2 separate regions of the Homo sapiens genome follow, and region 1 is linked to region 2. Evidence: promoter capture Hi-C in human tissues and cell types (Jung and others, 2019). All regions are on one chromosome and are shown on one strand. Each heading gives the region's core, a stretch centred on a gene start or on the middle of the fragment in contact. The rest is flanking DNA. Distances are from core to core; before and after follow the strand shown. Region 1 has its middle 3.8 kb from the start of TNRC6B. Region 2 holds the start of GTPBP1 (GTP binding protein 1).

Region 1 (4,816 bases), core at 289-2,788, 1.5 Mb before region 2:
CCCAGAAACTCGCATTCATCTATGTTTTAAGGACGGCTTCAGGAAAGAAAGTAACTAAAATGGTAAAAAGCGCATGAGGCCGGGTGCGGTGGCTCATACCTGTAATCCCAGCACTTTGGGAGGCCGAGGCAGGCAGATCACCTGAGGTCGGGAGTTCGAGACCAGCCTGACCAGCATGGAGAAACCCCGTCTCTACTAAAAATACAAAATTAGCCAGCGTGGTGGCACATGCCTGTAATCCCAGCTACTAGGGAGGCTGAGCTTAGCAGGAGAATCGCTTGAACCCGGGAGGCGGAGGTTGTGGTGAGCCGAGATCGCGCCATTGCACTCCAGACTGGGCAGCAAGAGTGAAACTCCATCTCAAAAAAAAAAAAAAAAAAAGTGCATGAGAATGCCCTGTGACTATCGACTCCACCTATCTCTATAAGCCAGAAAAGGGAGGATTCCCTAGTGTGCTTCTCCCATAAACTAGGCTGCCATGCCAGCCAGCAGACAACTGATGGATTCTAGAAACCCGGCTTTCCTTGAAAAGGAACCTACGAATGCTTGTAAAATCCCACAACACTTGTTGTCATCCTGGCTTCTGGGTCTTTATACAGTCTCCCGCCTTTGCTCTTTCCACTCAGATATGACGACAGGAAAGGAGCTGTTTCATGGCAGGCAAAGGCCAATGCCTGGACAATCTGGTAGCCTGAATAGCTGTGGCTTAACAAGCTTCCACTGTCTTTGCCTAGCACTGAGTGAAATAGCCAGGCCCTGCACTGACAATTGAGATGCAGGAAAAAGCAGGAAACTACTAGAATGGAAATTCTGATTATTTAGTCTATTTTTATCCTTCCAATACCTTCCAGATGAGTTACTGAAAGCCTACTTGCTTGTAGCTGGCTCGATTTGTAAAAATGTGTGGAGACTGAACATCCACCTTGTTTTAATTTGTGATGGACATGCTTTCTTTATGAAACTGAACTTTGCTAAGTCTCCATTCCCCAGTGTAGAATATTATTGTATACAAATATTTATATGTGTTGCCTTGTAAGTGTTAAATAGCAAACTGCATGAAAAGTTTGGAAACAGAACAAACATATTTTAAATAAAATATTGGTTCTAATTTCAAATAATATGCTGAAAACATATATATATATATTTTGAGACAGAGTCTTGCTCTGTCACCCAGGCTGGAGTGCAGTGGCATGGTATCGGCTCACAGGAACCTCCACCTCCTGGGTTCAAGCGATTCTCCTGTCTCAGCCTCCTGAGTAGCTGGGATTACAGACACATGCCACCATGCCCAGATAATTTTTGTATTTTTAATAGAGACAGGGTTTCACCATGTTGGCCAGGCTGGTCTCGAACTCCTGACCTCGTGATCTGCCCACGTCAGCCTCCCAAAGTGCTGAGATTACAGGCATGAGGCACTGCGCCCGGCCACTGAATATTTTTTCCTTAACCTCCACATCATCTTTTCTATGCAATACCTCTAAATTTAATACAATTAGTCTAATCGTTTATCTAAAACAAACAAGTGCAATAAATACATTATTTCTCCCTTGTGTTTCCAGACATAATAGATTCTGTGATAGATTTATTATACTTTTTTCATATTAACAATTAGACAATATTTTAAAATTATATTATTGTAAGGTAAGGACACAAAGAAATAAATTTTTTTTTTTTTTTTTGAGATGGAGTCTCGCTTTGTCGCCCAGGCTAGAGTGCAGTGGTGCTATCTCGGCTTACTGCAAGCTCCGCCTCCCGGGTTCACGCCATTCTCCTGCCTCAGCCTCCCGAATAGCTGGGACTATAGGTGCCTGCCACCACGCTCGGCTAATTTTTTTGTATTTGTAGTAGAGACGGGGTTTCACTAAATCACCTCGTGATCACCTCGTGATCTGCCGGCCTCAGCCATAAAAATTATTTTCTAAAACTAAAAACAAGAACATTCAAATGACTGTTATCTTTCAAAGCTGGCACCTTTGGAGGTTACATACCATTCCTCAAAATATTTTTATCAGAAAACATGATTGGCCAGGCATGGTGGCTTATACCTGTAATCCCAGCACTTTGGGACGCCGAGGTGGGTGGATCACTTGAGGCCAGGAGTTCGAGACCAGCTTGGCCAACATGGCAAAATCCCGTTTCTACTAAAAATAACAAAAATTAGCTGGGCATGGTGGCACACGCCTGTAGTCCCAACTACTCAGCAGGCTGAGGCTCAAGAATCACTTGAAGCCAGAAGGTGGAGGCTGCAGGTTGCAGTGAGCTGCAGTGAGCAAGGTCGTGCCACTACCCTCCAGCTGGGGCAATAGAGCAAAACTCTGTCTCTAAAAAAAAAAAGAAAAAGAAAAAGAAGAAAACAAGATTGAAAAATAACTGAACTGAGTATTTAACTCAAAAATCTAGAAAAAGGCTGGGCGTGGTGGCTCACGCCTGTAATCACAGCACTCTGGGAGACTGAGCCAGGCAGATCACCTGAGGTCAGGAGTTCAAGACCAGCCTGGCCAACATGGTGAAAACCCAACTCAAAATACAAAATTTAGCTGGGCATGGTGGTACCTGCTGGTAATCCCAGCTACTTGGGAGGCTAAGGCAGGACAATTACTTGAACCTGGGAGATGGTGGTTGCAGTGAGCTAAGATCATGCCACTGCACCCCAGCCTGGACAACAGAATGAGATTCTGTCTCAAAAAAAAAAAAAAAAAAAAAAAAAAAATATATATATATATATATATGTTCAAAAATCTAGAAAAAGAGTTAATAAACCCCAAAAATGAATAAATATAAAAGCAAGGCTGGCCATGGTGTTGACTCATGCCTGTAATCCCAGCACTTTGGGAGGCCAAAGTTAGAGGTTTACTTGAGCCCAAGAGTTTGAGACTGGGCAACAAACATAGTGAGATCTCGCCTCTACAAAAAAATAAAAAAAGTCAGCCAGGCTTGGTGGGGTATGCCTGTGGTCCTAGCTACTCCGGAGGCTGAGCTGAGATCACGCCACTGTACTCCAGCCTTGGTGACAGATTATATATATATCTGTTTTGTTGTTTTTGGCACAGATATAAAGTAACAGCCAAAAAAAAAAAAAAAGAGTAAACTGAATTAATAAAAACAAAAACTAGGCCAGGCGTGATGGCTCACACCTGTAATTCCAGTACTTTGGGAGGCCGAGGGTGGATCACGAGGTCAAGTGATCAAGACCATCCTGGTCAACATGGTGAAACCCCGTCTCTACTACAAATACAAAAATTAGCCGGGCGTGGTGGCACGCACCTGTAGTCCCAGCTACTCGGGAACCTGAGGCAGGAGAATTGCTTGAATCCGCGAGGTGGAGGTTGCAGTGAGCGGAGATCACCAGTAGAGCGAGACTCCATCTCAAAAAAAAACCAAAAAACAAAACCAAAAACTATATTTTGTTTTAAAACACTAAATAAATGTAGATAATTCTGTCAAAAATCTGATCAATTGAAAGAGAGAAGTCACAAACATTAGGGCTGAGAAAGAGGATATCATAACTGCAGATTTAGAGAAAATCTTTTAACTCATGCTAGAATTATATGTAACTTTACATAAATAAACTTGAAGATTAAATAAGATGGATGATAGTCAAAGAAAACAGAAGTTACCAAAATCAACTCAAGAAAAATTAGGGGAACAACAACCCAGAGCAGAAATCTCTAAGATCTTCAAAGAATGAGCCACTAAGACAACAGCAAGCCCAATTTTCTAGGTGAATGCTATCTAACTCTTATTGAACAGATAATTTCCACGTTATCCTTACTGTTCCAGGAGGTGTAAGGATAAAAGGAAAAGCTTCCTACTTTCTTCCATGAGGATAACATATTCTTGATATGAATTTAGACTAAGATGGTACAAAAAATAAAACTAAACTAATGTTCACTTGTGAAGACAGATGCAAAAATACTAAGTAAAATATTATCAGACAGAACTGAGTAGTTTTAAGAGAATAATTCATTATGACCACATAGGCTTTACACCAACAACACTACACCAACAATACAAGGATGGTTAAATTACAACGATACAGGGACAGTTAAACTAGCTACTAACATTAATCTTCATTTGTTCAATAAATATGTACTAAGTACTTTCCCTATCAGACTCTGTGCTAAGTGCTAGGGATGCAGCAGTGAAGCAGAAGGTTCTCGTCTATATGGAGCTGACATCCTCATAGGAGAAGGAACTCACTGAGAAGGGAATAAGCAGTTTGACAGGATATAGAATAACTGAGAGAGGCTCACTTTAGATAAGGTGCACAGGGAAGGCTTTTCTCAGGAGCAACATTTAAGCTGAGTTGAAAAGCAGATGTTTAGGCCGGGCATGGTGGCTCATGCCTGTAATCCCAGAACTTTGGGAGGCTAAGGCAGGCGGATCTCTTGAGGTCAGGAGTTCGAGGCCAGCCTGGCCAACATGGTGAAACCCCCATCTCTACTAAAAATACCAAAAAAATAAAAATTAAAAAAAAATTAGCTGGGCATGGTGGTGTGCCTGTAATCCCAGCTACTTGGAAGGCTGAGGTGCGAGAATCACCTGAACCCAGGAGGCGGAGGCTGCAGTGAGCTGAAATGGTGCTACTGCACTCCAGCCTGGGCAACAGAGAGGTACTCCATCAAAAAAAAGAAAAGAGAAAGAAAAGCAAATGTTTGAGTGGTCAATAAACAAGAGAAATGATCAGGAGGCTAGGACCTGGGAGCAGGGGATAGAGGCATGAAATGAATCTCAAGAGGTAGGAAGAGCTAGATCATACTAAGTTCTTCAGTCCACAGTAAATATTTCACTTTTGGAATAGTGGAAAGTCACAAAA
Region 2 (5,231 bases), core at 2,732-5,231:
TTGTGAGGGCTGCCTTCCTCTAAAATAGTAGGTTCTGTTACAAGGAATAAGCAGCTTGGAGAACAATAACCAGTCCCTTTCAGAATGGTTACAAGCCTATGTGTCTGACAGGATCCAGTGGGGAGAGAGGACGACCTCTGTTATCCCAGCTATCCAGACTAAATAGTCAGTAGGGTCTGGGGCAAGGAGCCTGACAAGAGAGGAATTCTGGGCATCTTTTCTCTGCTGACACCAAGAAGAATCACGGAGGTCCTCTGCTAAGCAGAAAATAAGTCGCAATGGGATCTGTAAACAGGGCCTGGAAGGGAAGACCTCCAGCTGCCCAGGAATAAGCTTAATTCTAGACCTAACTATGGCTTGCCCTATTACCTTAGACAAGAAGTTCCTTTGCTTTGTGCTTCATTTCCTCTTATGCAAATAGAGAGTACTGGAGGTAAAAAGGAAGCATCTGTAAAACTGCTTGGAAAGTCAAGCATATTATGGCCACTAAGGTCAGAATTAACATTCACTTTGTACTTTTATGTACTCCAAACAGTTCTGCAGACACTAAAGAATCACTGTAACTGAGACACATAAGCAGAAAAGTTCAAAAAGCGGGGAAAATGTGCTCTAAATAATTTCTTTTTTTTTTTGAGACAGAGTTTCACTCTTGTCGCCTAGGCTGGAGCACAATGGCACGATCTTGGCTCACTGCAACCTCCGCCTCCCAGGTTCAAGCAATTCTTCTGCCTCAGCCTCCCAAGTAGCTGGGATTACAGGCGCCTGCCACCACTAATTAGCGCCCGGCTAATTTTTTGTATTTTTAGTAGAGATGGGGTTTCACCATGTTGGCCAGGCTGGTCTCGAACTCCTGACCTCAGGTGATCCACCCGTCTTGGCCTCCCAAAGTGCTGGGATTACAGGCGGCAGGGCCACCGCACCCGGCCCAATAATTTTTAAAAATAAAGTGAAAGGAAAACTATGCTCACCTGATCCCTGCCCAATGACATATATGGTCTCTCCGCATCCCTCGTCCATCCTCTCCCACATCTGCCGAAGTAGGCTGTCATACTGCTCTGATGTAGGGCTCACTAGAACCAGCTAGAAAAGAAACCAACAGCCTTAGGACCACACTTGCTAGAAGAGCACCACAGCCAAAGCTGATCAATATAGCCTAACCAAAGATCCTGACTGAACCCCATAGCACCCTCATCTAAAAAGGCTGCACAGCCCCTTCATGCCCTCTCTGCTTCTCCTGAAGTAGCCTTTGAGCCTCAGGCCTTATATGAGCCAAATAATATACTACAATGTGTATGTCTGAGCCATAACCCATGGTAAAGAGGGCACAAGCAGCCTGCCTCCTGCTGCTTAACAGGAAGGGCAGGACCCAAGTGACTGAGAATATGGCACTGTGGATAGAAAGCGCAGTGCTTTCCATCTACATGCCAAAGTCTTCTACCTGCAGTTGGCATCTGGAAGCCCACAAGACATATACCTCATATACCTCCATGCCCTCCACCCACAGGCCAGTGGCTTCCAGGATAACAAAAGAATTCTGTTCTATCTTGTCTTAGCTATATTGAATATTTGGGAATGAAAACTGCCTGCAAGACTCATCTTCATCAACAAAGCACCATCACCATTACCACTACGAGGAGTATTAGCACCGTCATTTTGCAAATGTCTGCCAATAACATTGAAGTGTCAACCATTTACTTGGGTAAGCCATTTGGCAATCAGACCCCATTCTCTAACCACTCCTGTGTGACCTTGGACAAAGAATTTAACCACTCTGAGTTTCAGTTTTTCAATCTATAAAACGGAGCTAATACTACCTGCATCCTAAGGCCACTGTAAAGAGCAAATATAATAACATGTAAAGCATCTAGTCCACAGCTCAATAAATGTGAAACTACAAGGTTTTCTTCACCCAATCATTCCCAGAAAAACCTTGTTGGATGAAACTAGCCACCACTATTCACTAAGTGTTTCTCCCTTTGGAAGCTCTCGGAGCCTTAGGTCTCCACATTTTCTATCGTAAGGACATGAACCTTTCGCTTCTAATCTGTTCCTCCGGAATCAATCTATTCAACCCAACCCTTCTCTCCCTCCACACCATCACTTTTTCTTTTTGATATCATCGATATTAATATACATATGATTTTTTTTAATTGTAAGGAGGACTTCCCCAGCTATGTGATGAAATAACACTTCTAGGAATATTAAATGAGCTGGTCAAGAAATGAAGGTACTACCGTCTTTGCAACTCTGCCCTGCAATTTCCTATCATGTTTCTTCAGCACCTTGACCATGTGTTGACATCCAGTTTGTTTGCTCTTGAGTCAGGTCCATAATCTTGTAACTTCCTGAGTTGACTCATCAGAGCTTGTAATTGTAACCTGGATGTTTCCTGGGTCTTTTACATCGTCCTGGCCATCCCTCTCTCTAAGTTTGGCCATCCTCATTATGGCCTTACAGGCACAAGACAGGACCAACTTTGACAGGCTAGCTGGCTTCCAAGTGCTCACCTGAGACTACAATGGCAAAGAGCAGTTGAAAATAACTTGCTTAGGTTGCAGGGAAAGTTCCTCCCCAGTTTAGGACCAAGTTTCATGCAAATTTGCCGCCATAAACTATAAAAAGTCACAAACATTTTCAAAGCTGGATAAAATGTCTATCGTAACTATCCTACAAATGTAAGTGGTGGTATTGGTGTTCTATCTTTCACCCACTGCTATTTAATCTGCACAGGAAATTAGGAACTATCTCGTTCACTTCAAACATTTACTGAGTCTCTAGTATGCATCAGGCACTATTAGGTGTCTTCTTAAATATTTCTAATTTTTACAACCCATCTGTACTTTCTTAAGATGAGGTGGTTGGAGAACTGAAAGGTTAAGAAACTTTCCCAACGTCACAGAGCCTTTCGATGGTAGGGCAGGAAAGGGAACCCAGCCCTGTCTGACTCCCAAGTTGGCATTCTTTCCCTAAGGAACGTTAAGCACCTTCAAAACACCAGTCACATCTTGTATTTACTTTTCTATTCTTCACAATGTCAAGCCGTTGGCGAGGCCTTAATTCCTGCCTACCTTCTCGACAGCTCAAAAAACACGGTTTTAAACGTCCTTCACTGCTCCACTCATACAAGATGAGCTTCCACTCACAGGATAGCGAGACTAAGGAGCCTGACCATCTTTCCATTTTGTTTCGGGTGGCCTCGAAAAGTAGACATTCTCGGACATGCTCCTCCCCAGCTGAGCGACTACTTTCTGTTTCCTTTCCCGAGTCTGGGAAGAGACGCGGCGGCCACCCTGCCCTGGCCTCCGACTACCTGTCTTCATGAGCGTCTCGGCCCCCTGCCCGGGCCCCCTCGCCCCTCTGCTGTCCCGCGCGGTCCAGGGAGAGGAGACTCTCGGTCTCCGAATCCCCTCAAGTGGGGACCCGAAGAACGGGGAGGGGCACTGAGCGGGGACAGGGAACGCGCGGAGCGCAGCTGGCATCGGGCGCCCCCGTTCCACGTGGCAGAGCCGAGGGGTTACGATCTCGGCGGGAGACGGGAGGGCGGGAGGCTGGGTTGGCGACGCGGGGGAGCCAAGGTGGGTGCGGGGACCATGGGGACGGCCCCTCGCGCCGCGAACCCCCGCACGTCCCGGAGACTAGCAGGTGGGCGGGCTCGGCCCCTTCTTCCCGTTCCGCGCTCCCCGCGGACAGGGCGGCCGCTGGCCCCGCCGTCGCCCGGGAGACTGCTCGGCCAGCCGCCCGCTCCCCTCAGCGCCCGCCGCCGCCGCCCGGGCCTACCTTGCTGGTGAGGTCCAGCTCTGGCTCGCCGTTGAGCGCCTCGCCGTCCTCGCTGCAGTCCGAGTCAAAGCCGCCGTGGAGTCGGGCGGCGGCCGCCGCGGCCCTGGCCGCCCCCGGGGAGCTGGGCTCGGGGGCGAACATAGAGGCCGGGACCGGCGAGTCCATCGCGGAGCGACTGCGCTCCGTCGCCATCTTTAATAACTTAGGCTAATTCGTAGCCGGCTTCCCTCCCTCCCAGGCTCATTTGACTAATCTATGCACAGAGCCCCGCCCCGCTCCTTATCGGAATAATTTATGCAAAACTCCAGCCGCGTACTGGGTGACACGTACCTCTAGCTAAGAAACAGTCGACTAGGCCTCTCAGCCACCAATCCCTGCAGAGCTTTCAAGTACCTAATGAATAATTAATGAGGCCCAAATCCCAACAACAAATGTCTGAGACGTCACGCGCCCTGCTCCCAGCTTGGGAGGGGGCAGTACCGAGTCCCCGCTACCCGCCTGAAGCCTTCCCGCCAACGGAAGCAGAGAAGTGTCTGACTGACACAGCAGCCATCCAATGAGGAGAGAAATACAAACAACGTTACTCGTCAACGCCCCTTCACTCTCCTTGTTTCCAGAGGCGGTACTAAGCCTGCAAATCTTACTGCAAAACAGTAGGCGCTGTAAGCCTTCCGATGACGGACAAGGGCAGGACCCAATCGAGTCATAGAACAGGTCCCGCGCCTGGACCTGCTCATGGAGATAGTAAACTGCAAAATGAGCCTCCCACTCGATTCAGTGACTGAGGCAGTTGCTGGAACGCCGATGTCCAACGTGCTGGCATGCTCCAGGCAACTTTAATAGTAGGATCGATGCTGTAAGTTCCAAGAGTTGTAATACTATAGCAGCCAGAGTGAGGCAATAATTAAATGCTGACCTTAGGGAGAATTCTCCATTCACTGCCTTTGCGGAGGCAATCACACGAACTAAAAACAGAGGCAAGCAGCTAAAATTAAAAGCCAAAAAACACCTCACCACTTTTGTGGTGAACTGCTAAACCGAAATCTAGGGTCTCATAAGGTAGTTTCCTATGGATTATTTTTCCAGTGTCATCAGTTGTGAAAAGCCCCAACCCAAAATGCCATCAACACACGTTTTAGTGTCTTGAATTCCTGTTTCAAAAGCCGGAAAAGCCTAGGCCGTCATTGTTTGGCGAAATTAGGGATTAACCAACGTCTATGAATGTCGGCCTTGGCCACTCGAACCAGGCATCAAGCAAACAAGAGCATGTTTGAGAAGATAAGGAATCCAAGACTTAGGGTTTGGACCTAAACCCTAAATCTTTAGTGAGCAAGTGGCAGGATTGAAAATGGCTTTCAGTTTTGGGGATCTACCTGAGAAGAAAGAGACAGTCTCTTCTTGTCCCTGTTTTCCACTACTATCAAGTCTTATTTGCACAAACACAGCTGGGAATC

The links. Contacts are between HindIII fragments. The study calls those that stand out against the background at their distance.
Region 1: a fragment that was not itself captured here is called in contact with the fragment with the promoter of GTPBP1 in region 2 in 1 of the 25 tissues and cell types used here (dorsolateral prefrontal cortex).

The regions. Positions count from the first base shown.
Region 1 is chr22:40,171,688-40,176,503 of GRCh38, reverse strand. It overlaps a transcript of TNRC6B not described here. Among named protein-coding and RNA genes, the nearest start is that of TNRC6B, 3.8 kb to the left of the region's middle. The HindIII fragment of the contact is 5,621 bases long and covers 1-4,348 here.
Region 2 is chr22:38,704,694-38,709,924 of GRCh38, reverse strand. It overlaps GTPBP1 (GTP binding protein 1), which reads right to left and starts at 3,981. Exons shown (of 12, transcript NM_004286.5): 1 at 3,778-3,981; 2 at 969-1,080. The coding sequence starts at 3,969. RefSeq lists silencers at 3,333-3,472, 3,653-4,062, 4,383-4,532 and enhancers at 3,166-3,851, 4,153-4,302, 3,852-4,537, 4,538-5,223. The HindIII fragment of the contact is 4,768 bases long and covers 2,960-5,231 here.